2 separate regions of the Homo sapiens genome follow, and region 2 is linked to region 1. The links are contacts of gene promoters, found by promoter capture Hi-C in blood cells and fetal thymus (Javierre and others, 2016). All regions are on one chromosome and are shown on one strand. Each heading gives the region's core, a stretch centred on a gene start or on the middle of the fragment in contact. The rest is flanking DNA. Distances are from core to core; before and after follow the strand shown. Region 1 holds the start of GRTP1 (growth hormone regulated TBC protein 1). Region 2 overlaps MCF2L (MCF.2 cell line derived transforming sequence like).

Region 1 (3,456 bases), core at 343-2,842:
AGAGGGGAGGATGGCTGGAGCCCAGGAGGTCAAGGCTACAGTGAGTGGTGATTGTGCCACTGCACTCAGAGGGATACCCTGTCTCAAATAAATAAATAAAAGCAAAAGTTGATCTTGTCACCCCCTGCCTGGAAAACCTTTAACAGTTGGCTTCTCTGTGCCTGGCCGTGGTCACCACACACCTCCGACCCTCCGCCCAGGTGCAGGGCCCCTGGTTTCATCTCTGTCCTTCCCCACCAGGTCCCTACTGCTCGGTCCCTGGAAGCCCAGCTGCCATTCACATCCCCCTTCTCAGGAAGCCCCCAGGACTCCCCTTTGACCCCACTTCTCTGAGTTCCTAGCTCCAGGGCACACTCCCACCAAGCCCTCACCCCAGGCAGACACTTCATTCATTCACTGAACACACAGGGAAGTCGCCTGGCACTGCCCCAGGTTCTGAGGACTGAGCAGTGAATGAAAAATCCGTTGCAGGGAGGAAGGGTTTTTGACTCCAGCAGGGGCTGTGCTGGGAAAGGCAGAAATGAGGAGGTGCCCTCCGCACAGGGAAGCCTGGGGCGCCCCGGAGGAGGGGGCCCTGCAGCTAACCCCGAGGCGGGCGGGCGGTCAGGCCGGTGCTCACCGCAGCAGTAGGAGGCCTGGGGTCGCGGAGGAGCGGCAGGTCGAGCAGGGCCCTGTGGGTCCCGTCACAAGGACGGAGTCTCGCTCTGTCGCCCAGGCTGGAGTGCAATGGCGCAATCTCGGCTCACTGCAACCTCCGCCTACTGGGTTCAAGCGATTCTCCTGCCTCAGCCTCCAGAGTAGCTGGGACTACAGGCAGGAGCCACCACGCCCGGCTAATTTTGTATTTTTAGTAGAGACGGGGTTTCACCATGTTGGTCAGGCTGGTCTCAAACTCCTGACCTCGTGATCCGCCCGCCTCGGCCTCCCAAAGCGCTGGGATTACAGGCGTGAGCCACCGCGCCCGGCATGGATCGAGTTTTGATCCATCCCGATATGGCTCCCTGCTGGGAGGGACGGGTCTCCTTCGCGTCCGACCCGCCGGCCCATCTCAAAGCGGGAAAACCGGTCCCTGCGGCTGCCCTAGCTCGGAGCCCGCAGCTTCGTCCCGACCTGCCCGGAAAGGTTCCTCCCCCTCCCTCCGCTCCGGGAGCCCGGACTTTGCCCGGCCCGTCCCAGCCCAACCCACCTGCGCCCTCGGGACCCACCTGCGCCCCCGGGACCCACCTGTCCGGCTCCTGGGGACGCCCCCGCCCTGCAGCAGCCGGGACCATTTGATCGCCCTGCGGGTGAGCGTGACCAGGTAGCTGGAGAAAAACTTCTCGTAGGCGGCGTCGTCGAAGTCCTCAGGCCGCTCGAATCCGTACGGGTCGATCCTGCAAAACCGAGAGAAGGAGGCCGGCGTCCCCGAAGTTTCCTCTGGGGGGTCGCGGGCCCGCGCGGGGACCGCAGCCGCCGGGGACGCCCGCACCCCGCGCCACACACCTGGGGACCCGCGAGCGCTCGGCGGGCTGCATGCGGGGAGGGAGGCGCGCACCGAGCGAGGCCAGCGGGTCCCAAGTTCGCCTCCCGGCTCCGGGGCGCTTAAGTCCTTCCGGCGGGACCGCGGGCGCGTGGGGGCGGGGCGGGGAGCGGAGAGGGGCGGGGCTGGAGGCGGGGGCGGGGGGGGGCAGGGCGGGGGGAGGGGCGGCTGGGGGCGGGGAGGACTTGGGGAGAGAGGAGGGGCAGGAGCGGGGGAGGGGCAGGGGAGCACCCAGGGCGGGGGAGGGGCGGGGCTGGGGGCGGGAGGACCTGGGGAGAGAGGAGGGGCAGGAGCGGGTGAGGGGCGGGGGAGGGCCGGGGGAGGGGCAGGGGAGCACCCAGGGCGGGGGAGGGGCGGGGCTGGGGGGGCGGGAGGACTTGGGGAGAGAGGAGGGTGGGGGCGGGGCGGGGCCTGCTCCCGGGGCTTCCGAGGCCGCGGCGTCCCGCGGGCAGAATCGGGGGCGCCTCCCGCAGAACCCCCGCGGCCTGGACCCGGGTGAGAGGAGCTTCTTCTGCGATTCCTTCAAACCTCAGTGCCTGGCCGACCCGACTCTGACACCTGACTCCTATTTTTATTTTATTTTTTATTTTCTCCGCTGCATTTCAAGGCCGAGACCAACACACAAATGAGAAGCCCCCAGGGGCGCCCGCCCGTTCCTGCCCCCCCAAACCAGGGACCGGGGTCCCCCCACCGGCGAGCCAGGCCTGGGAGAATCCGGGGCAGCTCTGGTTCCGAACGGCTTCTTCTCGGTCCGCATCCAATGACATTGTCCTGAGATTTCAGCTGCTTTTCGTGTCCGGGAGGCCCCGGAAATTTGCCAGAACTGCAGATTTTGAATTTTGCTCTGGCGACGTGGCAAAGGGGAGCCCCCAGACGTGAGGCGCTGGGGCGACCTCGCCCTGGGTCCCCCAGGGGTCTGGAGCGGGGGCTCCTCCGACAGGCCTCTCCCCGCCTGTAATTTAGGCCCAGGGCGACCTGGACAGGCCCCAGGAGGAGGCCGTCCCCGGACTCCAGACGCACTTTCCTGTGAGAAGCAGCCCGGCCTCGTCTGGGTGAGGCGAGGATCACAGGCTCAGCGTCCCCTGCGCGTCCGTCAGGGCCTTTCGGAACCAACTTGGGACCTTCCCATGGGTGTTTCCGGAATGTTCCATGCGAGCGCCACCCAGGAGCCTGGTCAGCAGCGTGTGGAACGGACCGGTCCCTAAGTGCGGACTCCCGCCTCTGCCTTTCACCCTTCTCCAGCCCTTGCAAGACCGGGGGGCGGGGTGGGGGTCAGTGCCCAGCGGAGCAGAGCCCCCGACACGGTTCCTCCCGTTCCTAGTCTGCTGGTTCTGGGAACTCCCCAAGCTTTCAGCCCAGCTCCTCAGCACTGGCCTTTGGTAACACGCGGCGTCCCTCATTTGAAAGATCACACAGCCCCCACTCTACGGTCTGACCTCCTTGGGATGTTTAGACCCAAGCCAGGAGACAGGGCCATAGCCTCCTGCCCCTCGGCCTACGGGTGCCCCACAGTCCAGGACTGACAGGTGGGCGTCCGTCCCCAGGGTCTTCGAACCCCGTCTGGGCTCCTCTCTGCCTAAGTCAGTGACTCCCTGAACCCCTCTCGGGCTCTAACTGACGCCCGAATTTCCTATATCGCATCCCTCGCGCTTTCTGGAGCAACAGACACAGTCCTGCTCCCCACTTCCCAGCACCCGGGGTCCTGCGCCCAAATCGCCCCACACCGCGCAGCTTCTGTTCCAACCCCAGGCCTGGAAGCCTCACGGCTCCCCTTTTCCCTAATTCCTGCCTTCTGGCCATGGAGATGGGGTTCTAACCTCCCTTTCCCACCACTGCCGTGGAAAGCAGCGTGGCAGGCAGCACGGACCAGGGGCCGCCAGCTCCCGAGCCTGAGTGTGATGGCGGGACTGCCACCAAGTGTATTTTTGGGCCAGATG
Region 2 (3,456 bases), core at 407-2,906, 340 kb before region 1:
CAGGCCCTGGGGGCGTGGCCGCCTCCTGCCCTTTCCAGGAAAGAACTGACCCCAGAGGTACCAGAAAATCCAGTTAACAAAAATGGTTCCCTCAGGCTGCAGTTTTTTGTTTTGTTCCAGACAGAGCTGGGTCCCTGTCCTCTGAAAAGGTAGGGAGCCCAGTTCTGTGTCTCCCCAGCGGCGGGCAGGAGAGCAGCATCAGGCCGGTGAGCTGCAGGCTGACTTGGGAGGGGTGCCGCGGGGGTCTCTCATCTGATGTGCTCGTCCCAGCCTCCAGGAAGATGCTGAGAATGTCAGCCTCACACCAGACAGTGTAGTTGCTGCTTCCATTTGGGGTATAGTGAACACACACCAAGTAAAAACAGAAATATCCTTAAATATGGCATCTGTATCCCGCACATTACATAAGGTGGCAAAACACAGAGGAGATGTTTAACCATCAGCGTGAAAGTGCAGCCGTGGCCATTACCGTGAAGGTTCTTCATTCTTCAGTCTTTAAAGACAACAGCGCACTGGGCCTGGTAACTGAGAGCTCAGCCCGTCGGCCTGACCTGGAAAGCAGCACATTGATCCCCTGATAAATATCACATAACCACCAGCTGGCAGCAGCCAGCCTCTGCAGTCATGCCTCAAGGAGAGGGAGAGCGGTGGGCACCTCTGTCCACTTGGCGGGTTGAGGTGGGAGCTGGAGGAGCAGGGAGCCTCACCGGTGGGCCTTTCGGGGGCAGGACGTCTTGGTGGGCAGAAAGAAGGGGGCTCGTGACTGACTATGGTCAAAGCCCTGGACATGGCGGTGTCCTGGTAGCCCCAAATCACTGTGTGTTGGGTTTGTGGTTTTGACCTCAGTCTCTTGTCTGTTGTGAGAATCTTGCACCCCCTATGCGCCAGGCTCTGCTGGCTGAGCTGAGTGCACGGAGGAGGGGCTGGGTCTCGGGCCGAGCGGCCGAGCTCCCTGAGGGGCTGATGGGACCGGCTTGGTGGGGCAAGGCTGCGATGCTGCAGACGGTTTCCACACATTCCTCCCTGGTTCTCAGCCACACTGTGGCAGGAAGGCAGTTATTAAGCCCATGTTATAGATGAGGCTTAATAACACGGTGATGGCTGGAGAAAGGGGATGGCTGGGCAGGGGAGCGCCCGAAGGCTCAGACCACATGGCCGTACCCCGAGGACGTAGGCTCCAGGTGTGCTGTGGCCAGAGGGGTGTCCTGGGGAGGGCGGTCATCTCCAAGCCTCCAGGCCTTTGTCTGTCACCTGCACAGGAGGAAGGGCCTGTGTCCCAGGGGACGGCCGGCCTGACAGGTACATCCGCCCCCTGATGGCACCTCCTGGCATGGGGCTAAATGAGATTCTGTGGTGTCCACACTGAATGCTGACTGGTCAGACTCATGCTCAGAAATCAGGGCTGTTGTCAGTGCTTGCTACTTGGAGCCATGAGCTGGGGCGCCTCCTGTTTGTTGAACCTTCCTGTCTCTTTTGTCTTAGAAACTTCATGGAGTCCCTTAGCTACCCACATCCCTTTCTCAAGATTTTTCTAGAATCTGCGGAGTTCCTTAGCTACCCACATCCCTTTTCTTGAGATTTGTCTAGAATCTGCAGCACTCAAAGGCCACCCATCAAGGCCATAAGAGTGTGGTAGGCGGCACGTGTTCATGTGTGCACGCCTCTGTTTATCCGATGTTCTGGAACCTTCCATGGCCTCCTTGCTGCTGCCCCACTTGTCTGTCTGCTTCTCCTGAGATCCAGGAATCTCAGATGGGTCCAGACTCCTGCAGGACAAGACCCACTCAGCCACCTCTGTAGATTGCGCATCTGTGAGTCGCACAGCCTGGTCTGGCTGAAGGTGGCCGGAGCGCAGGCCCAGTCCCCGCTGTGGACACGCGGGCCCCAGGTTGCTCAGAGGCAGCTCCATGGATCCCCACTGTTCACCTGTGTATGGAAACTCAGGTTTTCTGGTCACACTTAGATAATAAAAAGTGGAAGAGGCCTTTCTATCACCAAACGCTCTAAATCAGATCCTGGAAATGCCAGCTTCATTCAGCCATGAGCAGTGCTGCTGACCGTGGAGCTGTTTCCCCCACCAGACTCAGTGTGGGTGTCTGAGTGTGTGGTGTGAGTGTGTGTAATGTGAGCCTGTGGTGTGTGTGGGGTGAGTGTGTGGTGTGTGTGGCGTGTGCGGGGTGTGTGTGGGGTATGTGTGGTGTGTGTGTAATGTGAGCATGTGGCATGTGTGGGGTAAGTGGTGTGTGTGGTATGTGTGGACTATGTGAGGCATGTGTGGGGTGAGTGTGGGGTGTGGTGTGTGGGGGGTGTGTGTGAGCGTGAGTGTATGCGTGCATTCTACCCACGTTTCCTTTCTTCCCAGGTAGGTCTCATCAGTGTCAGACCCAATGCTCCCTTTCTATCTGGAAATAAAACTCTTTGATAACAAAACCCAACCTGTGTGAATTTGGGAGGACGCCCATGTGCCCTGATCAGAAGGACCCACAGAAGGGAAGCTGCGGGCCTGTAAGAGCCACCTGTCCCCTGGCTGTCCCGGCATCCTAGGGCGCAGCAGCCGCGGCAGCTCCCCTGGATTTCTGTGAGCACGGGGCTGCAGGCGTGCTGTGGGGACCCCGTGCCTCCAGGGTGTTGCCATTGAGCATGTCCTTCCAGAGAGAGTGAACAATTCTTGACACATTTCTAAGGGAAATCTTCTTCCTAAGGGCATCTACGGGATGCCTTCTTGAGAAGTGCAGAGTGTGTTAAAAATGTGGGGGTCAATCATGGCCTCTGCAGATAAAACCAGGGTCCCTGCAAGCCTTGCAGGTGCAGCTTGGCAGAGGGGACCGTCCCAGAGGAAGTCTCTGCATCCCTGGCGAGCAAAATTGCCAGGCTAGTGACAAGGAGGAGACCTGCCCACTGCGCCCTGAGGGTGCTGTGTCCCCGGGAAGTACCCTCTGCGGGGGACCCTCTTCCCAAGGTGGGGGCGGGGCTGCCCTCTGCTGGAGACGCGGAGCATTGCGGCTCGGTCCCGGGACATCCCTGGGAGACCAAGAGAGGGAGGGGAGCTTGGACCTTTTCTTCCAGGAGATGGTGGACGAGACCCTGGCACAGGCGGTTCCCCAGCACGCAGTTTCCAGACAGCTGCACAGCCAGCACATTCTTTAAGTGGGAAAAAAGTGAAATTGACCAGGCCTGTTCTTTCACATGTCAATGCAAATTAAATGGACAAATCTCTCGTGAAGGCTGCTTTTAAGGGGTTTCAACTGTTACATTCTAAACCAAGCATCACTTTTATCAATTTAGAAAGAATGTTGTATTCTAATTTTAACTTTCCTTCTGTTTTCATATGCAAATGCCAGGTGTCCCAATTTAAGCACTACATCTGACTATACTCATCATTTTTGGAATATTAGACTGAAATAGGTTTGCCCCAAATGGTTTGGGGCACCTGTTAATATAAACCAAGTTTTTGGT

The links. The method cuts DNA at HindIII sites, captures the fragments that hold promoters and counts their contacts. A CHiCAGO score of 5 or more calls a contact.
Region 2: a fragment that was not itself captured here is called in contact with the fragment with the promoter of GRTP1 in region 1 in 2 of 17 cell types (M0 macrophages and M2 macrophages); the score reaches 5.5 in M0 macrophages.

What each region holds. Positions count from the first base shown.
Region 1 is chr13:113,362,538-113,365,993 of GRCh38, forward strand. GRTP1 (growth hormone regulated TBC protein 1) reads right to left here and starts at 1,593. Exons shown (of 8, transcript NM_024719.4): 1 at 1,483-1,593; 2 at 1,225-1,373. The coding sequence starts at 1,514. RefSeq lists a silencer at 1,177-1,471 and enhancers at 2,459-3,152, 3,153-3,456. The HindIII fragment of the contact is 5,619 bases long and covers 1-2,864 here.
Region 2 is chr13:113,026,691-113,030,146 of GRCh38, forward strand. The region is part of intron 3 of MCF2L (MCF.2 cell line derived transforming sequence like); the gene reads left to right. Among named protein-coding and RNA genes, the nearest start is that of MCF2L, 59 kb to the left of the region's middle. RefSeq lists enhancers at 615-1,116, 1,117-1,616, 3,204-3,456. The HindIII fragment of the contact is 8,054 bases long and covers 1-3,456 here.